Linked DNA regions of Homo sapiens: regions 1 and 3 are each linked to region 2. The links are contacts of gene promoters, found by promoter capture Hi-C in human tissues and cell types (Jung and others, 2019). All regions are on one chromosome and are shown on one strand. The core of a region is centred on a gene start or on the middle of the fragment in contact, and the rest is flanking DNA. Distances in the headings are between cores, read along the strand shown.

Region 1 (3,458 bases), core at 167-2,666, 220 kb before region 2:
CACCACTGCACTCTAGCCTGGGTGACAGAGCGAGACTCTGTCTCTAAAAAAAATAAAAAATAAAATGATAATAAAAAAAGGGTAATCCCAGCACTTTGGGAGGCCAAGGCAGGCAGATTACAAGGTCAGGAGTTTGAGACCAGCCTGGCCAATGTAGTGAAAACTCATCTCTACTAAAAATAACAAAAATTAGCTGGATGTGGTGGCGGGTGCCTGTAATCCCAGCTACTCAGAAGGCTGAGGCAGGAGAATCGCTTGAACCCAGGAGGTGGCGGTTGTGGTGAGCCGAGATCACGCCACTGCACTCCAGCCTGGGTGACAGAGCGAGACTCTCCCTCTCAAAAATAATAATAATAATACTAAAATAAAAAGAGCCAATTGTTAAATTTTCAGGAATTTTGCAAATAAGTTGTCAAATGGTATGGACTGAAATCAATCATGATAGCATTACTTACATCATGGATATTGACAAATGCTAAAAATCAGTTTCCCCTGACTCACAGCCAGTTGTTAAAAATTTATCTACACACATGGCCAGATGCGGTGGCTCACGCCTGTAATCCCAGCACTTTGGGAGGCGAAGGCGGGTGGATCATGAGGTCAGGAGTTCAAGACCAGCCTGGCCAAGATGGTGAAACCCCGTCTCTACTAAAAATACAAAAAAAAATTACAGTGTGCCTGTAATCCCAGCTACTTGGGAGGCTGAGGTGGGAGAATCGCTTGAACCCGGGGGGCGCAGGTTGCAGTGAGCCGAGATTGCACCACTGCACTCCAGCCTGGGTGACAGAGCAAGACTCCCTCTCAAAAAAAAAAAAAAAATTTACGCACACACTAGTGTTCCCACTTGACCCCTGGTCAGCCCTGATGAATATTCCTCATTCTGGAAGGAGTATCATGATAGTGTCCTGCATACCCTATTAACCCTGCCCTTGGCTGTGAACAGACATGCAACAAGCAGATATGTACCCATGAGGAAGCGCTGGATGATCTGCACGGCTGCTTGCATGTGGGTCATGGCAGTCATGCCCCAAGGTCCCCTTTCCCAATACCATGTCTCCTGTGCCTGGATTCCTGTGGAGCTTGCTATGGCCTGGATTTGCTGCAGCTGGTGGGCGTGGGTCAGATGTGGAATATGTTGCCTACAACACCATGTCCAAGCCATGGTTTCCTGTGACTCCCCCATGGCTCCCACCCACAGTCCCCCTGGCTGTGTACCTGTTGTTGATGCTGCTCCAAGGCTGTGACTCTATGTCCAGGCTATGGGAGGAGTTGTGGAAGGCAACAAGAGCCCACTGAACAGTGGGCAGGGTCCCAGGTTGGAGGGAGCAGCCTGTGCCTGCTACAGTACCCAATCTAGGACCTGCAGGTGTCCACCCTGGCCCCTAACACCCCCACCAGGCATCCCCTAGCATAGGGTGGCCACCTCTTGGGCCACAGCTTCCAGCTGCAGTGGGAGCAGAGCCAGGAGTTGGTCTCAGAAGGTGAAGCAGGTGGGACAGGAGGTGCAGTGTGGGAAGGCACCTCTGGAGCCATGAGCACATGCCTGGCACCTCAGCCCTAAGATGCCCTCTCTGAAGAAGCAGGTGCCCATGTGTGAATCACAGCTGGGCAAGATGGAGCCCTGTGGGTCACAGGCACAGGCTGCAGAGGAGAGATAGGGTCAGGGTAGAGAGCAGATGACACTAGCTCTAGCCTTACCTTCGAGAGACCTGAAGGATGGGCCAGGTGCAGTGACTCACACCTGTAACCCCACCACTTTGGGAGGCTGAGGCAGGAGGATCACTTGAGCTCAGGAGTTTGAGACCAGCCTGAGCAACATAGGGAGATCCTGTCTCTACAAAAAAATTTAAAAATTAGCCAGGTGTGGCGGCGTGTGCTGTAGTCTCAGCTACTCAGCAGGATGAGGTGGGAGGATCACTTGAACCTGGGAGGTTGAGGCTGTAGTGAGCTAAGATCATGCCACTGTACTCCAGCCCAGGTGACAGAGTGAGACCCTATTTCTTTTCCTTTTTTTTTTTTTGTGAGACAGAGTCTCGCTCTGTAAGTGTAGTGGTGCGATCTCGTCTCACTGCAACCTTCACCTCCCAGGTTCAAGCAATTCTCCTGCCTCAGCCTCCTGAGCAGCTGTGACTACAGGCAACCGCCAACATGCCTGGCTAATTTTTTTTTTTTTGTATTTTTAGTAGAGACGGGGTTTCACCATATTGGCTAGGCTGGTCTTAAACTCCTGACCTCATGATCTACCCGCCTCGGCCTCCCAAAGTGTTGGGATTACAGGCGTGAGCCACTGTGCCTGACCCATGAGACCCTATTTCTGAAAAAATAATAGGTCTGTGGGAGGCTAAGGTGGGTGGATCACTTGAGCTCAGGAGTTCAAGACCAGCCTGGGCAACATGGAAAAACCCCATCTCTACAAAAAATACAAAAATTAGCTGGACATGGTGGGGCACACCTGTGGTCCCAGCTCCTCAGGAGATAAGGCGGGAGGATCCCTTGAGCCTGGAAGGTTGAGACTGCAATGAGCCAAGATTGTGCCACTGCACTCCAGCTTGGGTGACAGAGTGAGAGCCCGTCTCAAAAAAAAATGTCTGAAGGGGCTGAGCACGGTGGCTCACGCCTGTAATCCCAGCACTTTGGGAGGCTGAGGCGGGCAGATCACGAGGTTAGGAGATTGAGACCATCCTGGCTAACATGGTGAAATCCCGTCTCTATTAAAAATACAAAAACAAAATTAGCCGGGCGTGGTGGCGGGCACCTGTAGTCCCAGCTACTCAGGAGGCTGAGGCAGGAGAATGGCATGAACCTGGGAGGCGGAGCTTGCAGTGAGCTGAGATCTCACCACTGCACTCCAACCTGGGCGACAGAGCGAGACTCCGTCTCAAAAAAAAAAAAAAATACTGAAGGATGAGAATGGCCCTGTGTAGGTGTGAGGGTGCACACCAACCCTTGCCTAAGCCACTGCTCAGAACTGCCATGGGCACTGGCATTTACCCTGGACAGAGAGGCCATACTGCATGGCAGTATTTGGGCAGGAAAACAGCACAGGGTTCCAGGGGCTCTACAGCCCTGTCAGGGGTCAACCAGAGTCAAGGGCTGGCAGGCAGGGTGAGGAAAGAGCCACCTGATGTGTCCTCTCTATAGGCATCCCTCGCCTAGCCTTGCTGTTTCCCTTCAGCTGTTTTCACAAGTATTTCTTTAAGTTCTTTGGGGAAACAGCAATAAACGTGCTGTGTTCTCCCTCAGGAAAACCCCAAACACTCCCTTGCTACTCCATATTGAGCAGCCCCTGCAGGGCAGCCTCACCCCTGGCTGTGGAATGTGCAAGTGCCCCTCTCACCTCTGCACTCCTGCTCAGGGTCACCCCAATACCCATTCTGCAACTGGGAGCATTTGCAGCTCCCAGACGCTGCCCAGCAGGGGCACTGACCTGTGACCTGAAGGAAGAAAGCATAGCCTGG
Region 2 (3,355 bases), core at 465-2,964:
TGAGATGGCCCTTTGCATGTTCTGGTGAAGGCAGAAATGCAGGCCAGGAGCCAGACTTCCCACAAAGGAAAGAGTGGATCCTACACGCTGCAGACAAAAGGACAGAAAGTTCAGACTTGGCTAGGATAAGGGAAGGAGGATTAAGTTCCCACCACTATGACAATGAGGTTAGAAAAAGTATCGCCAGGCCGGGTGCGGTGGCTCATACCTGTAATCCCAGCACTTTGGGAGGCCGAGGCGGGTGGATCACGAGGTCAGGAGATCGATACCATCCTGGCTAACACGGTGAAACCCTGTCTCTACTAAAAATACAAAAAATTAGCCGGGCGTGGTGGCAGGCACCTGTAGTCCCAGCTACTCAGGAGGTTGAGGCAGGAGAATGGCGTGAACCCGGGAGGCGGAGCTTGCAGTGAGCCTAGATTGCGCCACTGCACTCCAGCCTGGGCAATAGAGCAAAAAACTCCGTCTCAAAAAAAAAAAAAAAAAAAGAAAAGAAAAAGAATTCCCAAATGACAATGACACAGGACATACACACAGTTCTGCTGACACCCGGCACTTTATTAGTGGGGAAACTCGCCTTGGTCTGGCAGAGACTGGGATCAACAGGACCAGCACCCATCTCGAGGTGGTATTTTCTGTAAGATCAGGTGTTCCTCCCTCGTAGGTTTAGAGGAAACACCCTCATAGATGAAAACCCCCCCGAGACAGCAGCACTGCAACTGCCAAGCAGCCGGGGTAGGAGGGGCGCCCTAGGCACAGCTGGGCCCTTGAGACAGCAGGGCTTCGATGTCAGGCTCGATGTCAATGGTCTGGAAGCGGCGGCTGTACCTGCGTAGGGGCACACCGTCAGGGCCCACCAGGAACTTCTCAAAGTTCCAGGCAACATCGTTGCGACACACCGGAGACCAGGTGATGAGCTTGGGGTCGGTCATAAGCGCGGTGGCGTCGTCGCTGGGAGCTGGCAGGGCCTCCCGCAGGAAGGCGAAGAGAGGGTGCGCCCCCGCACCGTTCACCTCGCACTTCTCGAAGAGCATGAAGTTGGGCTCGAACCCACCACCAGGCCGGACGTACTTGAGGGAATTCAGAATCTCTTCGTTCTTGGCGTTCTCCTACAGGAGAGAAGGGCAGCTAGAACCCGGGGTCAAGAGGAGGAGAGAAACGTTCTAACCACAAACAAGGGAGATTTTCTATGAGTCACCGGGATTTTGCCCTCCATGCGCAATCCCAAGGGCGGAGAGGAATTTCAGCAGCTACGAGCAACAGAAAGGAAACGAGAGAGTAGCCAGACTCTCCGCGCATGGAGCCGACGGCACCCACCAGCACACCGCCGGCGCCCCCAGCCACTACTGCACGTCCGCCCCCGCCCCGCCCCGCTCCGCCCGGCGCACCTGATGCCCAAACTGGTTGCACGGGAAGCCGAGCACCACCAGGCCCCGGGGTCCGAGGCGCCGCTGCAGCTCGTTCATCTGGGTGTAGTCCCGGACCGTGGTGCCTCAGAGGGACGCCACATTCTCGATAAGTAGTACCTTGCCCCGCAGGGAGCCCAGGCTCACAGGCTCCCCGCCGGCCAGCGGGCGCGCCGAGAAGGCATACACCGACTGGGCCGCCGCCGCCGCCGCCGCTAGCCGAGCAGCACACATGGCGCAATTGTCCAAGAAGCCAGCGGAGCGCCCCGAACAAGCACTGTAAGGGGAGGCCAGCAGGCGCCTCCTTTTAACTGGCCGGCGGCGGGTCACGTGGCACAGGCAGTTTTCCGGGCCTGAGGGTCCCGCCTCATCCGGCCCCCGCCCTACCCGGAGGGCTCGGCCCCTCCTCAGCCAGGAAAAGGCTGGAGAGTGCGCCCGAGCGGGACGCGTGCTCCTCCTAAGCCGGAAGGAGCAGCAGGCATGTCTGGTCTGGCCCAGGCAACCAGGCGGCAGCGGTCCAGGTTACCCTTCCAAGGGCTGGGGCCCTCGAGGGCTCCGTTTTTTCTCAGAGGTTCCTGAGTTAGGATGTGGGGTTTGGCATAGGAGGCTGGTGGGCGACGGCAGCAGCTGCAGGAGCTGCCCGTGCACAAACAGCCCTCCTCTCCTGTGCCATGTTACCGGCAGTGCAGGGGACAGCCAGAGGGATCTAGGCTTCCGGTCTCCCTCCTCCCTGTCTCCAAAGCGGCACCGCCCTCGTGCGGGTTTTCTAACCGGGCAGAGTCCTGGAAGCTCTGCCCCAGCCTCCTTAAGTGGAGCCCAGTAGCTCGCCGAGGCCAAGGAAACGCTGCCGGAGTCCTCCCTCCCTGGCCTCCTCAGGCTGCATTCACCCTACCCCCAAATCTGAACCAGAATGCGGTACAGGGTAATCATTTCCATGTTGTTGGGAGGGACCAGATTAGCTGCTGGGTGGGTGGGAGGTGGGGCACAAGCTAGTCCTTTGCACTCAACAAACCTCTCCAGGGTGAGCTAGGCCAGGAAGTCCTTGCATCCTCCTACCCCCAGCCCTGGAGAGAGCAACACAAACAACAGGATACAGGAAGTTTAGAAAACTGCCTTTATTCTATTAGTAGTTGGAAAAATTAACTGGTACAGAAAAAAAGTTTAGTCAGCTGGAGAGAAGAGAGACTGAGTGCCACCCATGAGAACTGGTGGCTCCTCTGGGAGGGAACCTGGATACAGTGAGGAGAAAAGAGCACTGTGAATTAGAGCCAGATGCTTAAGTCCAGGTGAGACAGGTTATGCCATCTTCCAAAGTGTCTAATTGCCTCAGGCGTGAAACCAATTCCTATTTACTTAGCCCAGCTCCATGGGGTACTGAGATACATGGGGCCGAAAAGGGGTAATATGGCCATCTTTTATCAGAAAAAGTGACAAAACGGGAATTTAAAAAATGAATTTTCCATCTGACTTTATTTCCAAATACACTTTCTTTTTTAAAAAACCAATACACTTTCTTTGAGGATGACAGTATTAGGAAATCCAATTATACAAAAAATACTACATCTAGTCTGGGGTAGATATATTTATTTTTGGTAACATACATTAAGTGGCACTAATTACACAGTAACTATAAGGTAACTAACATGAAACCACAGAACTGTAACTCTGCCACAGCTGCATGAACTTGGGCTTTTCTGGTTGAGCCCATTTTCAAAAAACTGCCCACCCCAGAGCTATGCCAACAAAATCTGTTACGGAGTAAAGCCCTGAAGTGGTGACTCACCAGAGTACCTTGCAGCTGACAGATAATAGGCAGGACATGTTAGTTATAAAGTAGTTACAGCCTAATTCACAAAAGTTACCAACTGTTTCTCTTTCTAGAAAGAAGCAAGAAGTTAAGAAATTCCTTGAATTAGCGCCTGGTGTGTCAGGTGGGAGTGCAGAGGAGG
Region 3 (3,385 bases), core at 677-3,176, 250 kb before region 2:
GCTACGATCATTGGGCAGGCGTGCACAGGCAGTGTAGTGGCCACCAATCATGCCTCCATAGTGGTTGATGACAGCATATAGATCGTAGCTGGGCAGCTGCTCCTCTTTCTGACCAATGCAGAACTTGCTCAGGTCCAGGTTCCTGCAGGTCAGGTCCAGTCAGGGAGGGGTGAGACAGGCAACAGGCGCTCAGGATGCCCATCCTGGTCCTCACACCCCACCCACAGTTACCAAGGTCCACTGCTTACCTAACAGGGAACTCCACCAAGTCATTGATCTTGTCACGCCAGATAAAACTACGAAAGGAGAAGCGCTTGAGCTGCACGATGAGAACATTTGGCAGGCGCCATAGCAACAGCTGCTTGGAGGCCTCACGGTGCTGTTTGCACTGTGGGCAGTACCTGGTGGGGACAGAGATTGGGTCAGGACCAGCAAGTCTCTCTCTTCTCCATCCTGCCCCCTTATCTACTTGCTGCTCTGTTCTCACCAGGCCTCCTCGGGTGCCAGCACCTCAGGCCGTGTGAAGAGGTTGAGGCACTGGTCCAGGGTGAAGTGGCCGGCCCGGGCAGCCTCACCGGCAGAGCCTGGATCCTCAGCACATTCCAGCTCCTTGGAGGCTACCAACACAAACTCCTGCAAGCGCTCATTGTTCCGCCAGACGAGAGCCAGGCTACAGTCGTCACCCAGCTCCAGTGGGGTGTCTCCTGGAGATTCGCAGGGAGAGAGGTCATGCAGCTGTGGAGAACAGCCAGCTCAACCCACCCCATGGCTCCCACCCACAGCCTCAGACACCTTTGTCCTCTAGCCGCTGCTCTCGGTTGGATGAATCAATTTTATAGATGAAGAACTGGGGTGTGTGGGCATTCATAGCTTCACTTGGATGCTGGTACCCAGGCACAGCAGCTGTGTGAGAACATGATAATCAAAGCTTCCCTGCCCATCAGGGCCTCACCAGGCCCACCAGGCCCTAAACAACAGCCCCCTCCATCCTCCCTTATCCTCCTCCCCAGCTTCTAGAGCCTTTCACTGGATCTTACCTTCGGGTCGGGACACCCTCTCGCCAGCTGGCAAGGAGCCAACCTCAATGGGCCCACTGGCCAGCATCTCAGAAGAAATTCCACTGGTGCTGGGCACAGGACCCCGGTCAGGGGCTGCCCACACCCGGGGAAGCCCTGTGTCCCCCTCAGCCATAGGGGTCACCAGCTGGAGCTCAGGTGGCTGAATGGGGTCTCTCTCGCTGTCCCCAGCCTCCAGGGAACCTGTGGAGAGCAGTGTGGTGCAGCCAGGGCTCTGAGACTCCAAGGCCATGCGGCCTGGCTGAAAGGGTGGCTGGAATACACTCACAGAGTACCTGGCAACAGAGAACAACGCAAGTAAGACTCCTGACCAGCCCATCTAGCACCTCTGCCCCCACCTACACCACTCTAGTCCAACCACTGGGCACTTACCGGGCATAGCCCTCTAGCAACTGAGCGAGGCGGGCATAAGTGAGGCGTGAGGCAGGTACACTGACCAGGAAGGGGTAGCCAATGTTCTCAGGTCGGCAGAGGCCCTTGTGGTCAGGCCAGTGGGTTTTCTGGCAGAGCCTGACGGGAAGAGGAAGACAAGGATAGGCCCTTAGCCCCATCTCCTATGACTCCATACTGGGGGCTAGTCATAGTCCCTGGGAACTGGGTACGCCAGCCCTGCCTCCCCCAGAGCCTGGTAAAGTAGGGTGGCAAGTAGAAAGCTTAAGCATATGTGCCTTGGTGTGAAGGGAAGGAGCAGGGTGGCACATGGAAGGTGGAAAGAAAGGGTAGGGGAGACCATGGGGGTCCTCACTGGTTGCAGTAGCCCACACGGTAGCACCGGGTACAGCGCTTCAGCTTTTCATCCTCCGACTGTTGCTTCCGCTGGCAGGCTGCACACTTGGAGATGGGGACGCTGGGCACCTGGGGGCGCTAGGGTGGGTCGTCTGGCTCAGCAAGACCAGGAAGAAGTGCCCCACCCACCAGGGCGCTGTGCCATCAGGTTGGCCCCCACTCACCTGTTGCACCTCTAGCACCACTACCCGCTCCTTAGCCAACTCTGAGGATAGCAGCTCAAAGCAGAGGAGCGTATCAGATGGGGACACAGTGTCCAGTGAGTGGGAGGGTAGGAACACACGATGAAAACGATTCTTAATTACCTGGGGACAGAGAACACACAGATCCCACGTGAGGATAAGCCCTTTCCCTAGCCCTGCCCCAGAGTTTAAGAAGGCTTGGCCCTGCCTTGGGTCTATGTGGGCAGTGGTGAGGTCTGTAGGCCCAAATAGGCTTATGCCTCTGCTGGCACCTGTCTCAGTGCCCAATGCCATAAGGAGCCTGGTGCATCAGAGGGCCTGAAAGACCAGGTGTGAGGCAGATATCAACCACACCAGCTCTCCACACTGAGGGACTCTGCCCTGCTATAACTAGCATAGCCTTATAAGACTGTAACATATTATCATGGAGGGTCCACATTCAAAGAGCCTCCTCCCCACTCTTACCCCTAAGAAAACCAACACTGTCAGGCTAAAGGCTAGGAACCCCTGGGGAGAGCTAGCACACACAACTGGGATAAAAGGAGAGAGCAGCAGGATAGAGGGAGAGGCAGAGCGAACATAGGGATAGTCCTGCAGCTCAAGCTCCTTGTCTAAAAAGGGAAATGCAGTTGGGATCCACCACCACAAAGGGGAATAAACCCTGATAATGGCTAGGAACTGAGGGCACTTCTGTTGCACAGAAAAAATAACAGCACATCGCCTGTTTTTGTACAGTCACAGGCATACTCATGTGTATGTCTATTTTTATTTTATTTTATTTTATTTTTGAGACAGAGTCTCACTCTGTCACCCAGGCTGGAGTGCAGTGGCGCGATCTCGGCTCACTGCAACCTCTGCCTCCCAGGTTCAAGCGATTCTCCTGCCTCAGCCTCCTGAGCAGCTGGGACTACAGACATGTGCCACCACGCCCGGCTAACTTTTCCTGTATTTTTAGTAGAGGTGGGGTTTCACCATGTAAGCCAGGGTGGTCTGGATCTCCTGACCTTGTGATCCATCAGCCTTGGCCTCCCAAAGAGCTGGGATTACAGGCATGAGCCACCACGCCTGGCCCTATTTTTATTTTTTTATCTATTTATTTATTTATTTTTGAGACAGAGTCTCACTCTGTCACCCAGGCTGGAGTGCTGTGGTGCAATCTCTGCTCACTGCAACCTCCACATCCCGGGCTCAAGTGAGCCTCTTGCCTCAGCCTCCCAAGTAGCTGGGACTATAACACGTACCACCATGCCCAGCTAATTTTATTTCTTGTAGAGACAGTGTTTCACCAAGTTGCCCAGGCTGGTCCCAAACTCCTGGGCTCAAGTGATCTGCCCACCTCGG

What was found. Contacts are between HindIII fragments. The study calls those that stand out against the background at their distance.
Region 1: a fragment that was not itself captured here is called in contact with the fragment with the promoter of GPX1 in region 2 in 10 of the 25 tissues and cell types used here (aorta, dorsolateral prefrontal cortex, hippocampus and 7 more).
Region 3: a contact is called between a fragment that was not itself captured here and the fragment with the promoter of GPX1 in region 2, in 3 of the 25 tissues and cell types used here (bladder, dorsolateral prefrontal cortex and lymphoblastoid cells).

What each region holds. Positions count from the first base shown.
Region 1 is chr3:49,136,731-49,140,188 of GRCh38, forward strand. The region is part of intron 1 of LOC124909377 (a long non-coding RNA gene); the gene reads left to right. Among named protein-coding and RNA genes, the nearest start is that of LAMB2, 5.4 kb to the left of the region's middle. The HindIII fragment of the contact is 9,716 bases long and covers 1-3,458 here.
Region 2 is chr3:49,356,639-49,359,993 of GRCh38, forward strand. It overlaps GPX1 (glutathione peroxidase 1), which reads right to left and starts at 1,715. Exons shown (of 2, transcript NM_000581.4): 1 at 1,389-1,715; 2 at 538-1,109. The coding sequence starts at 1,640. The coding sequence ends at 750. RHOA (ras homolog family member A) reads right to left here. Exons shown (of 5, transcript NM_001664.4): 5 at 2,507-3,355. RefSeq lists enhancers at 1,391-1,999, 1,908-2,237, 2,000-2,608 and a silencer at 1,688-1,747. The HindIII fragment of the contact is 32,276 bases long and covers 1-3,355 here.
Region 3 is chr3:49,110,463-49,113,847 of GRCh38, forward strand. It overlaps USP19 (ubiquitin specific peptidase 19), which reads right to left. Exons shown (of 27, transcript NM_001199161.2): 18 at 2,027-2,167; 19 at 1,822-1,940; 20 at 1,449-1,586; 21 at 1,038-1,351; 22 at 793-903; 23 at 488-704; 24 at 249-401; 25 at 1-142. Among named protein-coding and RNA genes, the nearest start is that of QARS1, 7.4 kb to the left of the region's middle. The HindIII fragment of the contact is 5,151 bases long and covers 1-3,385 here.